3 separate regions of the Homo sapiens genome follow, and all the other regions are linked to region 1. Evidence: promoter capture Hi-C in human tissues and cell types (Jung and others, 2019). All regions are on one chromosome and are shown on one strand. Each heading gives the region's core, a stretch centred on a gene start or on the middle of the fragment in contact. The rest is flanking DNA. Distances are from core to core; before and after follow the strand shown.

Region 1 (3,822 bases), core at 899-3,398:
TTAATAAATAAATAAGTAAATAAATGAGCTGCACTGTTTGTGTGTCCCAGGGCGACTGGGCCAGGCAATGGGTCAGGTTCCGGCTTTGAGGTTTTTCTGTGTTCAAATGCTATTGGATAATTGATCAGCCAGTCCCACTGGAACCAACATTCAGACCCTCAAGAGGTCCCTCTCTTCAGGGTTCCAATGTTATTCCTCCCGTGGGTCACTTCACAGAGGCCAGTCTGCTGAACGCTCCTGAATGAACTCCCACGCCGCCTTCTGTGCTTGGGGTGTCCTGATTAAAATTAAAAGAGGATCTCCTGCTGGGATGAGTGTCCTTCCTGTGGCCTGTCTGCCTTGCCTTTGGGACAGGGCACAGGGTGGGCAGGAAAGGTCATGACAGCTGGAAAATGTTAAGGGCTCTGCCACACCTGCTCCACGGGTGCCCTGTCCTAGGGCAGGACTTAGGGAAAGACTTCCCCACAGGTAGGCAAGGGTCAAGGTGAACTCAGAAGAGAAAGGTTACCCAGGAAAGTGGGCTTGGTATTGTAGCTCCTGGGGGCCTTGGGCGGCGGTGGGAAATAAAAGGGGGTTGATCTGCCTCTTACCCCTCTGTCCCCCGCCCCTCTCCACCATCCACTCCAAAGCAGCTACTACCTCCCTGCACCCAACGCCTCTCCCACGTGCTCTGCTGCTGCGCCAGATCGCGCCAAGCAGATGGAGAGGGGCCGGGACGCGCGTTCCCCTTAACGGAGCTGATCACGGCTCCTGAGCCAGCGGGAGTGGCCCAGGGACGCAGAGTCCTCTGGGACGCCGGAGACGACTGCAGGACAGAGAGCCCCAGGATCGGCGCCTACTTCTGGGTTAAAACAGACAGCCGGGCAGCAGCGCCCACAGCCGAGGGCGCCGCAGCCGCTTCAACTCCGGGTCGGGGTCGCGGGCCTGGAGACAAGATGTACGCGAAAGTTAGGGCGGCGGGAGTCCCGCACTGGAGAAGGAATCGGGGTCACATCAGACCCAAGCCCCAGCATCGGGCACTGCCAAAACCCGTGATCGCCCTCCTGGCCCGGCTGGCCTCCAGCGAGGCCAGAGCGGGTCTGCAGAGTCGGTAGCCGGAGTTGCAGCCGCCGTCAGAGCTCGGCTCGGTCCCGCGGCCAAACGGATCATTTCCCCGCCCCCTGGAGCCGCCCCAGGCTCCGACTCCCGCACTCCCGACACACGCACGCACACACCTTCACACCATCGCTGACGCACGCACACTCGCCTCCAGCACTCACAGGCCGGTGCCCTGGAGAGTTGCGGGTCGGGGACGCGCGCGACGGAGCCGCTGGGTAGGAAGCCAAGGCCACTTAAACTTCCCCCATAGTCTCTGCCCGCCGCAACCCGTCCGGAGCCCCGGCTCCGAGCGCGCCAGGAAGCCCCAGCGCCCCGAGCGCTCCTGCCTGGCCCTCGGCGCTCGCTGCTCAGCGCCCGACGCCGCCTCCCCGCGGGCAGCACCGAGGGCCAGGAGGCGGAGCGGGAGTCCGCAGGGACCAAGAGGGCCCGAGGGACGGCAGTTCCCAGAAGCGCGGCAGCGAGTGAGATCCAAGGAGAGAAAGTCTAATTAAAGTTCCCGCTACCGGGGCCGGTCCCCAAAGTGCAACCAGACCCGAGCCCCGCGCGCCCACCTCCGCCCGCAGCTTCGGACTCCCATTCGCGTGCGGTGGCGGGGATGGCGAGCGGTGCAGTCCGGGGCCCGCTCGGGACCCCTTCCTGGCGTCTCTGCAGGCCAGGAGCCTGCGCAGGGCGGGAACAGGGGTGGGGCAGGGGCGCAGCCACTTACCTGGCGCAGCGGACGCACCCGAGGCCGCGGGCGCCTCCAGTCCGGGAGCGGTTCTCCGCGGCGGATCCTCTGCTTGGGGCGCGCAGGCGGCGGAGAGGACCTCCGACCCAGCTCGGGCCCGGTGCCTCCGCCCGCTCCAAGCGGAACCCAGTGCGATCTGTGGGCGAGCAGCGTGGGGCCGGCAGCCGGAGCGTGCGGGGAGCGAGAGGGCGCGGGGCGGCGTTCCTCTTCGGCCCCCGGCGCGATCGGTCCCCCACCTCCTGCTGCCGCCGCCGCCTCGTCCTCTCTCCTCCCCGCAGCACTGCCGGATCCGGCTTGCGCGCCGGGAAGGCTCCCAGCGAAGTGAGAGCGAAGCCTCCGGCGAGGCTGGAAATAGCGCCGCGCCCGCCCGGCGCCCCGCCCCCGGCCCGTGCCCCGCCCCGCCGTGGTGGCGGCTACGGCGGTGGCCGGGCCGGGCGGGGATCGCTCCAGCGATGCACTCGGCCCTCCCGGGGGCTCGCGGGCGCCGCGCCCACGCGCGCTCTGCGGCTCCCGCGGCCCCTCTGGCAGCGCTCTCAGAAAGAGTCGCTGCTGGGCGCGGTCCGGCGGCCGCGGGGGTGGGAGCGGTCGTGGCTGGGGCTGCGCCGGTCTCCCGGTTCAGGAGAGCCGGACTCCGGCCTGACGCTAGGCTCCAGACCGCGGCCAGTGCTGCCACTGCCTCGGTGGGTCGCACGCGGCGCCAACCCGGGAAAAGGACCAGGCGTCACCGGGGCGGGCCTTGACCACAGCGGGGCAGGGGCGCGCGCCCAGGACCCGATGCTGCGGGGGCGCAGGGCCGGTGAAAGGCGGAAGATTGATCCTGAGGAAGATTCTGGGATATCCCTGGGCTTCAGCTCGCGTGGAATTCGGTCAAGGCCGCGAGCTGCCTCAGGCCCGGGTGTCCGCATCCATCCTCAAATCCCTGGGGCTCTAGATTCTGCTGAAAGTGCCCTGCGAACAGGTGCTCCCTTCAGGACTTCATCCTGGAAGTTTGTGTCGGGTCACCAGCCTGAGAGCGGGGCCAACCGACCCTCTTCATACACACTCGGGAAAACAGCGTGGAGGGTGGAACCGGCCCACGGCCACACAGCACCGGGACAGAGTAGGGACAGGAACACGGGGCCCTGGATTCGGGTCCTTGTTCTTCCTAAGAAGAGGCAGCCCCAGCCTGCAGGGGACAAGCAGGCCTTGGGAAGGGGGGCAACTGCTTTCTCACAGGAGCTGGAGGAAACTGTGCACACAGTCACCTGTTAGTCTTGAAGGGACACTCAGTATTTTCAAACAACAGCAGAGAAGCCTTTAATAAAGTGAAAGACCCTTACTCTCTCCTCTCTAATGGTACCTGCTGGCTGGTTGGCCTGACTCCTACCAGCTGACCTAGAGTGAGTGATGGAATTGGGGAGTGAGCTGGGCCCATGGGTCTTGACTGACCAGAGTGGGGGACACCAGGCGGAGAGCAGAGCCACTCCTGGGGACGGCCAGGGAGCCCCTCAGCCCCAGGGCCATGAGGCCTCCTTAATGCCCCAGGTAAGCTCAGAGCATCCAAAAATAGACCAGGACAGATAAGAAGATAAATAGAAGCATGACAAAGAGATCATGGTCTTCCTTTAATTCTTGCAGCAACAGAGTAGACATTATCACTCCCGTATTACAGATGAGCGAATTGAGATGCAAAAATGCCACCATTTTGCTGGACTCCACGCATCTGGAGAATGGCCCAGGTGTGATGATTCCAAACTGGGATAGGCTTTGTTCTGGGGTTCCCTTTCCAGGACTTTAGGCTCGGAGTGACCCAGGCCTGGGGCTGCGCTGGGACCCAGGCACACTCCACTGGCTGCACGCATGAGGGGAATGTGTGTGTGTGTGTGTGTGTGTGTGTGTGTCTGAAATCACCCTCCTCCGCCTCAGTCAGGTGCAGATTGGAGGAGCTGAGTGCAAGGGCCAGGGACTCAAGTGTCAGGAAAAACAGGGCAGTGGAACCCTTATTCATCCTACATCCC
Region 2 (3,826 bases), core at 956-3,455, 180 kb after region 1:
CCTAAAGTGCTGGGATTACAGGCATGAGCCACTGTGCCAGGCCCAGGGACTATTATTAAGCCCCTTTTACAGGTGAGGAACAAAGAGGCTCAGTAACCTGTCCAAGATCACACCACAAGCTAGTGGGGGAGGCCAACTTTGAACCCTGATCTTTGGCCCCAGGGCCTGTGCTCCACTTTTCCATGGTGATCTCTGCCCCACAGAAGGAGACCTGCTTCTTCCAACCCGGTAGTTACTGTCTCAGTGCAGGGCACTGGAAAGGCACAGTTGTCTTGCAGAGAAGTTCTAGTTTTAAAATACCCATAAAAAGGACAAATACCTATTGCATTATGAATTATGATGACAAATGACATGTTACCAGAGTCAGGCCAGCTCTAGTGAGGAAGAAGTTTCTGCCTGATGAAGTGGAAAGAGACTGCCTGGGAAGGGGCTCAGATCCCCCAGCCACCTCTGGGTCAAGGTCGGCCTCAGCCAGGAAGCCAGGGGCCATTGCTGCAGCCCCAACACTGTTTTCTCTGTGGCAGAGTCAGGCATACAGCAGGCGCTCATAAATGCTCCTGAGTGAAGGGAAGGAACAGGGCTGCCTCCTACCCTGGTGGTGGGGAAGGAGGACTGGGTGGGCTCCTCACTCAGCCCTCCAGGGATTCAGCCTGGCTGGGCGCAAAGACGTGCAGGTCTGAGCAAGGTGGCGGCCTCCCCGGGACTGTGCACTCTTGCAGGCGGCCGTATTTCCTGGGGATGTGGTCACCAACCCCAGTGAGCCTGATAGCCCAGTGGTTATCGAGGAATCAGGTCTGCACTACTGGGCTGGCTGATAAGGGGCACGTGTTGGTGTTGTAATGAGGTGCATGTGGCAACCGTTCCCAGGTGGTCCCAGGGCCAAAGGCCAGCCTCACCCGAAAGATGTTAAATGCCAGGGCGTGTTTCTGAAGGTGCCATCTCAGGAGGCCTTGGAGAGCCAGGGCTGAGCTCCCTGGGCTTGGTGGAGATAGTAGAACCAGGCTCATCATCCCTTCAGGATCAGACATCGTTTCCAGATGCCATAGGTGGGGCCAGAACCATCTAAACATTACCTGTAGGGTTGTCCATTTCAGACAACTCCAATTTGACCATTCAGAGGGTTTGCCTGGAGTACAGCTTGGGTCTCCCGATCCTCTCCCTGCTCCCGGCCAAGCAGGCTGATGGGTGCCCATCATGCACCACCCATCCTGGGAAGTCAGGCTGCCCATGGACCTGCCCTGTCACCTGGCTGGTGAGTGTTCGTCATTTCCAGCCTGCCAGTGCCCCTCACCGGATTACACACGTGCTGAGTAACAACAGGTGCCAGGCACTCTTCTAGGAGCTGGGGAGACACAACAGAAGGAATCCCATCTGTGAAGCTCTAGAGGGGAAATCAGTCAAATAAAGAAGTAAAATACATAGTGCATTCAATAGTGACCAGGACTGTGGAAAAATAAAAGCGGGGACGGCAGTAGAGGGAGTCCTGGGAGTGATTGACAGTGTTGAGTAGGATGATGTTGAAAGCCTTGCACAGAGCGGACAGTCAAGTGAGACCCAAAGTGGGCGAGGGACTGAGCTCTGGGGTGTCAGGGAACAGAAACAGCCAGGAGACTCGGGCAGAGGAGAGGACTGAAGGTGGGAGGTGGGGCCAGAGAGGTGAGGGGCCGAGCAGAGGAGGGCCACGGTCCAGCTGTTTGGCTACTGTCCAAAGCAGAGATGGAGGGGCCAGGTCAGGAGCAGCGAGCCCAGGAGGAGGCTCCTGTAGCCCTGGGGTTGGAGTGGATGGGGAAGGAGCAGGCAGGCCCTGGGTAGGTTGTGAAGGCAGAGCCAGCAGGACTCAGCAGCCCATCAGGGCTGGGTGTTGTGGGAAGAGTCCAGGATGACTCCAGGGGTCTGAATTTGAGCAGCCAGAAGGATGGAGCTGCTATTGAGTGAGGTGGGGAAGACAGGGAGAAGAGTCCAGACCCCTTGTGCCTGGGGAAGTTGAGGCAGCAGAGGGATGAACAGAAGAGCATCTGGGGAGAGGTTCAGAGGTTCATTTCCAGCCAGGATCACTCGTCTTGCGCAGGTCCCAGTGGTTGTCATTTAGAAGGTTTAGAAACGCTTGAGGAAAAGCCAGTGTCAAATCATTTAAGAACCTCTCTGGCAGACACTTGGCTCACACCTGTAATCCCAGTACTTTGGTAGTCCACGGCAGGGAGATCACTTGAGGCCGGGGGTTCGAGCCCAGCCTGGGCAACACAGGAAGACCCCATCTCTACAAAAACAAGAACCTTTCTTGGAACCCCACCTTGGAAAGTTTGGCATTTGCTCCAGGGAGTTTATAAATGGCATTTATCAGCCTTAAGGGTGGCAGCACCCTGTAGGTTGTGATCTCATTTAATCACAGGACAGGCTGACAGTCGGGGGTGCCAGCCACCCCACACGAGCTGGGGACAGCCTCTTCAGGACGGTGCTGGGCTGTGTGACCCACAGACACTAGAGGAAACCCCTGTGGTGGGCATCCCTCAGCCGGATCCTTCCCACCTGGGGTGTCTCCTTTGCTGAGAGCTCCCAAGGAGCTAAAGCAAATGACCTGGGCCCCAGAGGCATTGCCGGGCAGCCCTGCTAGTGAGAGCAGCTGGGGAGGCTCAATGAACCTCACAGCCAGCCCACACCAGAGGCCAGCCCGCCCTGGCCTAGGCCCACGCACTCCCAGGCCCATGTGCACAAAGGGGAGGAGTCTTTACTCGGACCCGCCTATGCCTGAGGTCTGGCCCCTCTGGGACAGGATCTGCAGGCTCTGGTGCTGCTCCTCAGGGTCCTGCCAGAAGTCAGGGCCACCAACAGCCAGGACCCCTCGGCTCAGGTGCCCAGCCCAGAGGGAGGCAGGGGGCAGGAAGGCCAGGAGGCACAGGACTAAGGTGCTAGTGGGGCACCCTCAGGGCTGTGATGCATGTGAGATGTGCCCAGGTTATGGGAGCCCTGTCCACGTCGCACTTTTCCCTCCTCAGGGGAAGCACGTGGGGTAAACAGTCCATGACGTCTCAAGCAGCCCCTCCAACCTCGACTCCATGTCCTGTCCTTGGGCAGCCACTTCTGCACTGCCAGGGAGGAGAACTGTGCCACTGGCCTGGCCTTGAGCATAGGCCCCTGTTTGACTAGAAGGCACGCCACCTGTCTCTTATGTCCCAGCACTTTGGGAGGCCAAGGCAGGTGGATCACTTGAGCTTAGGAGTTCGAGACCAACCTGGCCAACATGGCAAAACCCCATCTCTACTAAAAATACAAAAATTAACTGGGCATGGTGGTGCGTGCCTGTAATCCCAGCTACTCAGGAGGCTGAGGCAGGAGAATCTCTTGAATGAACCCGGGAGGCAGAGGTTGCAGTGAGCTGAGATCGTGCCACTGCACTCCAGCCTGGGCGACAGAATGAGACTCCGTCTCAAAAGGGCAGGAAGCACTCCTTTGTCCCAGGGTTGCCATTGGTTGGTACTGAGGTGTCACAGTTCAGCTCCGAGGAGGAGAAAGCTTGGGGAGAATATTTTCCTCCTGGACAGCTGCCCCTGCCAGGGTTGGGCTGTCGGCTTCCAGCAGAACCCTGCCCGCCCCCCATCACCTCAGGGCCACTCCAGTCCTGGGTAGTGGAAACACTCACCGTTGGCAAGACTGGGGGCATAGAGTGCCCTGACGTAGGTCTTGGCATCAGACCTCATAAGGCAAAGGGCAGGGGAGAGAGACCCTTGGACCTGCCTCTTCTCTTGATGTCCCGCAGTTGGCATTTTCTGGCAACCACAAGAGTCACCCTGGTCTGGCTCAGAGAAGAGATAGCCAGCTGTGTTGGTCT
Region 3 (3,861 bases), core at 651-3,150, 210 kb after region 1:
GCACGCTCTGCTCGGCCTGAGGTGTCTCAGGGCATCCCCTGCAGGACTGTATGGCCCTTACTCTGAAAAGGATTTTCCCTTAGTAAGTGGTGTATCACGTTAATGACACAATTATGGTCATGTGTACCCAGAAAATATCGCAGCAATTACTTAAAATAAATGTGAATTATAAGCAACTTAGTGCTGAGACGACTATACACAGCACAACTGCTTGGCCCCAAACATCATGAGGTACTTCTCACTCTCTGTGGCTCTCTCCCTCTTATGTGCCCCAGTCCTGGGCGCACCCCGGGAAGGCGGGGACCCTGGGTCAGCTCCGTGAGGGCGAGGGGCAGCTGTGAAGGGATGGTGGGCACAGGCCCCCTCTGTCCAGCCAGAAGCCTGTCTGTGCGCACGTGTCCCGGTAGCTGGTGCAGAGGACACACCTCCGCGTTTTTGCTGGTGAACATCCTGGAGATGCTGGGAGTGTGTGGGCCCAGGAAGGACTTCTGTAGAGAACTTGGCTGCCTGGAGGGTGCGGGAGTGGGTGTCCGGGCCGTGGACCTATGCAGATTCTGTTTGGTTTTAAAGGAATAGTCAAGAGGCTGTTTCTCAAAGCCTGGCACAGGATGCCCACGACCTCCTCTCCTGCTGCCTGAGGAGGGATCCCCATTCTCCAGCCTCCCTCCAGGCCTCTGAACAGTGACCACGATGGCTAGGTCACTGTACACAGAGCTCCTTGGGTACCAGGCACCATTGTGTATACTCCATGTATGTTAAATCATTCGACTGGCATAGCAGCCCTGGGAGGGAGGCACCGCTATCATCCCCATTTTACAGATGAGGAAACTGAGGCACGGAGAGGCCATTCAGCTGGCCAGCAGCAGAGCCAAGATTTGCCCTTGAGGTTGGTGTTGAGTCCCAGAAGGCTGGGTATGTGGGGCCCAGAGCAGGGAGCCCAGCACAGGGACCGGGGTGCGGAACACACCCTCCCCACCTCAGGTTTGTAACCCCATGTCCCAACTACCTGCTTTCCTAAGCCCTCTGCCCAGCTGAGGGGGCTCCACCAGCTCTGCGCATTTTCACTCCCAAGCTTCTGTTTCCGGCCCAGCCTCCCCTCTCCACCTCTTGAGTACCTGAGATCCATTGAGGCCCAGCCGGGGAAAGGGAATGATGTGGCCAGGGCCACCCCTTACACTGCCTCACTAACCTCTTCGGCGCTACCCCACCCATGCTCGAGGCACATAGCTTGGCCGACACTTGCTGCCAGGCAGCCCTTCTACCGCTGTCTGGGCAGCTGCAGCATTTTTATAGGACTGTGACTCGTCTTCATGTTAGGTGATAAACTTCTGAGGGCAGGAGCTGGGCCGTGTGCCCGGGAGCGCTCCACGGGCTGGATTTGTGGGTCCCAGTGGGAGGCCCAGCGACGCCGTCTCTGGGGACCCCATTCCTGCAGATCTGGGTCTGGGAACTTGCTGCTCCTGCCCCATTTGTCATCTCCTGGCACTGACAGATGTGCCTGCCCCACTGACACTGCAGTAACTCCATCCACCTCGTTATTCACCACTCATGCAGTTCCCCCAGGTTGCTTAAGGGCTCTCTCACTTATGCCTGGATACAAGCCTCTTCTACCCGAGTCTTGCCTGGGAGAAATTTATAGGTGAGGGTGTTAGAGGAATGGCCACATAAGGAAAAACAACGGGGCCCACACAGCAGCCGGGATGTCGTTGGCTGGGACTTAGGCAGACCACGGCCTCCTCTCAGCCAATCAGGAAGCCCCTCCCTGCTGCTGGGGAGGAGGTGCGCGCTGGGCTTGAGCCTGGCTGGGGTGTGTGTACCACCCCATCCGCCTTCCAGGTGAGCAGGAGGGAGCAGGGGCTGTTAGACCCAGCTGGTCCGGGGCTGCACGATGTGAGTCATAAATTTATGGAAGGAGCCTATGGAGATGGTCGCAGTGGGGCGGTGACACTCCTGCCTGTCTTGCTGGCTGCTGCCCTCTGCTGGAGAGCCTGTTCCAGGTGTTAATTATTTTGGGTGGGTAGTAGCTAGCCTGCTCCAGGGATGACTTGGCTGGACCCCTCCTGCCTCGCACTTGGAGGAGTTGTGATGCTGCCACTGCCATGGCATGTCGGTCATCCACGGGACAGGCTGTTAGCCTGTCCTCATAGCCCACACTTGCTCCTGGTCATCCCAGCACCACTCGCCAAGCTCTGGCCCAGCTGTGCGGGGGCACACGTTGCGTCCGCATCAAGCATGGGCCCCAGTTTGGAATGTCCACCCCTCAGTGCTCACCGCTTGAAGATCAGAACTGTGCCGCGCCGGGCTCACACGCTTCCACAGGCCCCCTGTGCCGCCACAGCTGCCCAGAACTTGGGTGCCCTTGTGCGTCCACACCCCAAGCCTAAAGTCTGCAGAAAACGTGGGCTCGTTTTGCCCACCTGTTATTGCCACCAAAGCACCAGTGTGTCCTCAAGTTGCGTCAGAAAAGGTCATTTAAAACAAAATTCAGGACTGAAGTCCACTGTGAAGCATTTCAGCTTTTTTTAGGCGGGCGTGAATATCCAGCACGTGGTGCTCCTCCTCTTTTCAACTCCTTCCTATGGAACAGTGTGTGGAGTTGTCAACGTGGCCGGCAAAGGTGACCAGTGTCGGGCTGCACTTTGCAGGTGAAAACTGGGTCAGCCTTTCTTTAGTTTGATGCTTCTGTGAGCTGTGCCTTCTTGAAGGCACTATTTTTTTCTTAAAAAGCAGCAAAGGCATTCAAAGACAGTTGTCTCCACTGAGTGGGTTATGCAGGGGGAAGCTTGCTGCAGGCGAGAGAGCCAAGTTTCCTCACTGCCTCCCCTTTCTGATGTTTTTTTCTTGTATTGATTGATTGATTGATTTTTTGAGAGCTGGGGTCTTGCTGTGTTGCCCAGGCTGGTCTTGAACTCCCGGCCTCAAGCAGTCCTCCAACCTTGGCCTCCCAAAGTGCTGGGATGACAAGTGTGAGCCACTGCGCCCGGCCTGCCGCTCCTTTCTTGTAGAATATGTGAGTTCCTCTGCACATGCGGATGGCATCTCTGTCCCTCTGCCTGTCTTTTCTGAAGCCGGCCAGTCCCAGCGCAGCCCGTGGTTGTCTGCAGGTCACTTGTCCCACAGAGGTCCGCTGTCGCCATCACGTCGAGAATGACCATGTGACCTCTGAGGTTCGCTTCTGTTGGTGCAGGACCACATCTCACAAAGCCAAGGGAGCACCCCTGTTCCACGGCGTGGGTCAGGCCTCTTCTCGGGCTTTCTGGGAGGGCGCCACAGAGGTGTGAAGTGGCTTCTGAGGCTGCCTGTCTGGCCTGGCGCACAGGGCTTGCCATGTGGGGCACTGCCCTTGCCTGCCTTGGTAGGAACGTGCCTGGACTGTGGCGAAACTCAGCGCTGAGACTCCCAGGAGCGAGGTGGAAGCGGCCTCCTGAGCGCTTGCACCACGAATACGGGGGCGGCTGAGGAGAGGAGCATGTGGCTTTCTTGCTTCCCTGGCAGCTCCTGAAATCCTTTCTTTTCAGGAAATATTTCACTCGCAGATACCCAATTATCCTGTGAGGTTTGGAAGGCAAGTCTGAAAGCCCATTGAATCTACCACAGCCGTTCCTGCATAACAACTGCTTAATATCCAATCATGACAATTATACATAATTTGTGTTGACAGTGCCTAGAAGATGAAACTCCCTCGTATGGACGTTCTCTAAGGCAGGCCTGGAACGTGCAGGGCAGGACCGCCATGTGGCGTGCCCTTGGGCGGCCGCAACGACTGCCCTGGTCGGGGGTGGGCGGGTGGGGGCCACCTGGGCCTGTCTCACGTGGTGGCAGGTGGACCAGCTGTGGTCCGGCAGGAAAGCTGTTGCCGAG

The links. The method cuts DNA at HindIII sites, captures the fragments that hold promoters and counts their contacts. A contact is called where the count stands out against the background at its distance.
Region 2: a fragment that was not itself captured here is called in contact with the fragment with the promoter of CHST8 in region 1 in 1 of the 25 tissues and cell types used here (liver).
Region 3: a contact is called between a fragment that was not itself captured here and the fragment with the promoter of CHST8 in region 1, in 4 of the 25 tissues and cell types used here (H1 embryonic stem cells, bladder, dorsolateral prefrontal cortex and 1 more).

What each region holds. Positions count from the first base shown.
Region 1 is chr19:33,620,279-33,624,100 of GRCh38, reverse strand. CHST8 (carbohydrate sulfotransferase 8) reads right to left here and starts at 2,148. Exons shown (of 5, transcript NM_001127895.2): 1 at 1,805-2,148. RefSeq lists an enhancer at 2,443-3,187. The HindIII fragment of the contact is 24,734 bases long and covers 1-3,822 here.
Region 2 is chr19:33,438,334-33,442,159 of GRCh38, reverse strand. The region is part of intron 9 of PEPD (peptidase D); the gene reads left to right. Among named protein-coding and RNA genes, the nearest start is that of CEBPG, 67 kb to the right of the region's middle. The HindIII fragment of the contact is 8,430 bases long and covers 1-3,826 here.
Region 3 is chr19:33,414,515-33,418,375 of GRCh38, reverse strand. All of the region lies in intron 9 of PEPD (peptidase D), which reads left to right. Among named protein-coding and RNA genes, the nearest start is that of CEBPG, 43 kb to the right of the region's middle. RefSeq lists an enhancer at 1,892-2,041. The HindIII fragment of the contact is 3,918 bases long and covers 1-3,859 here.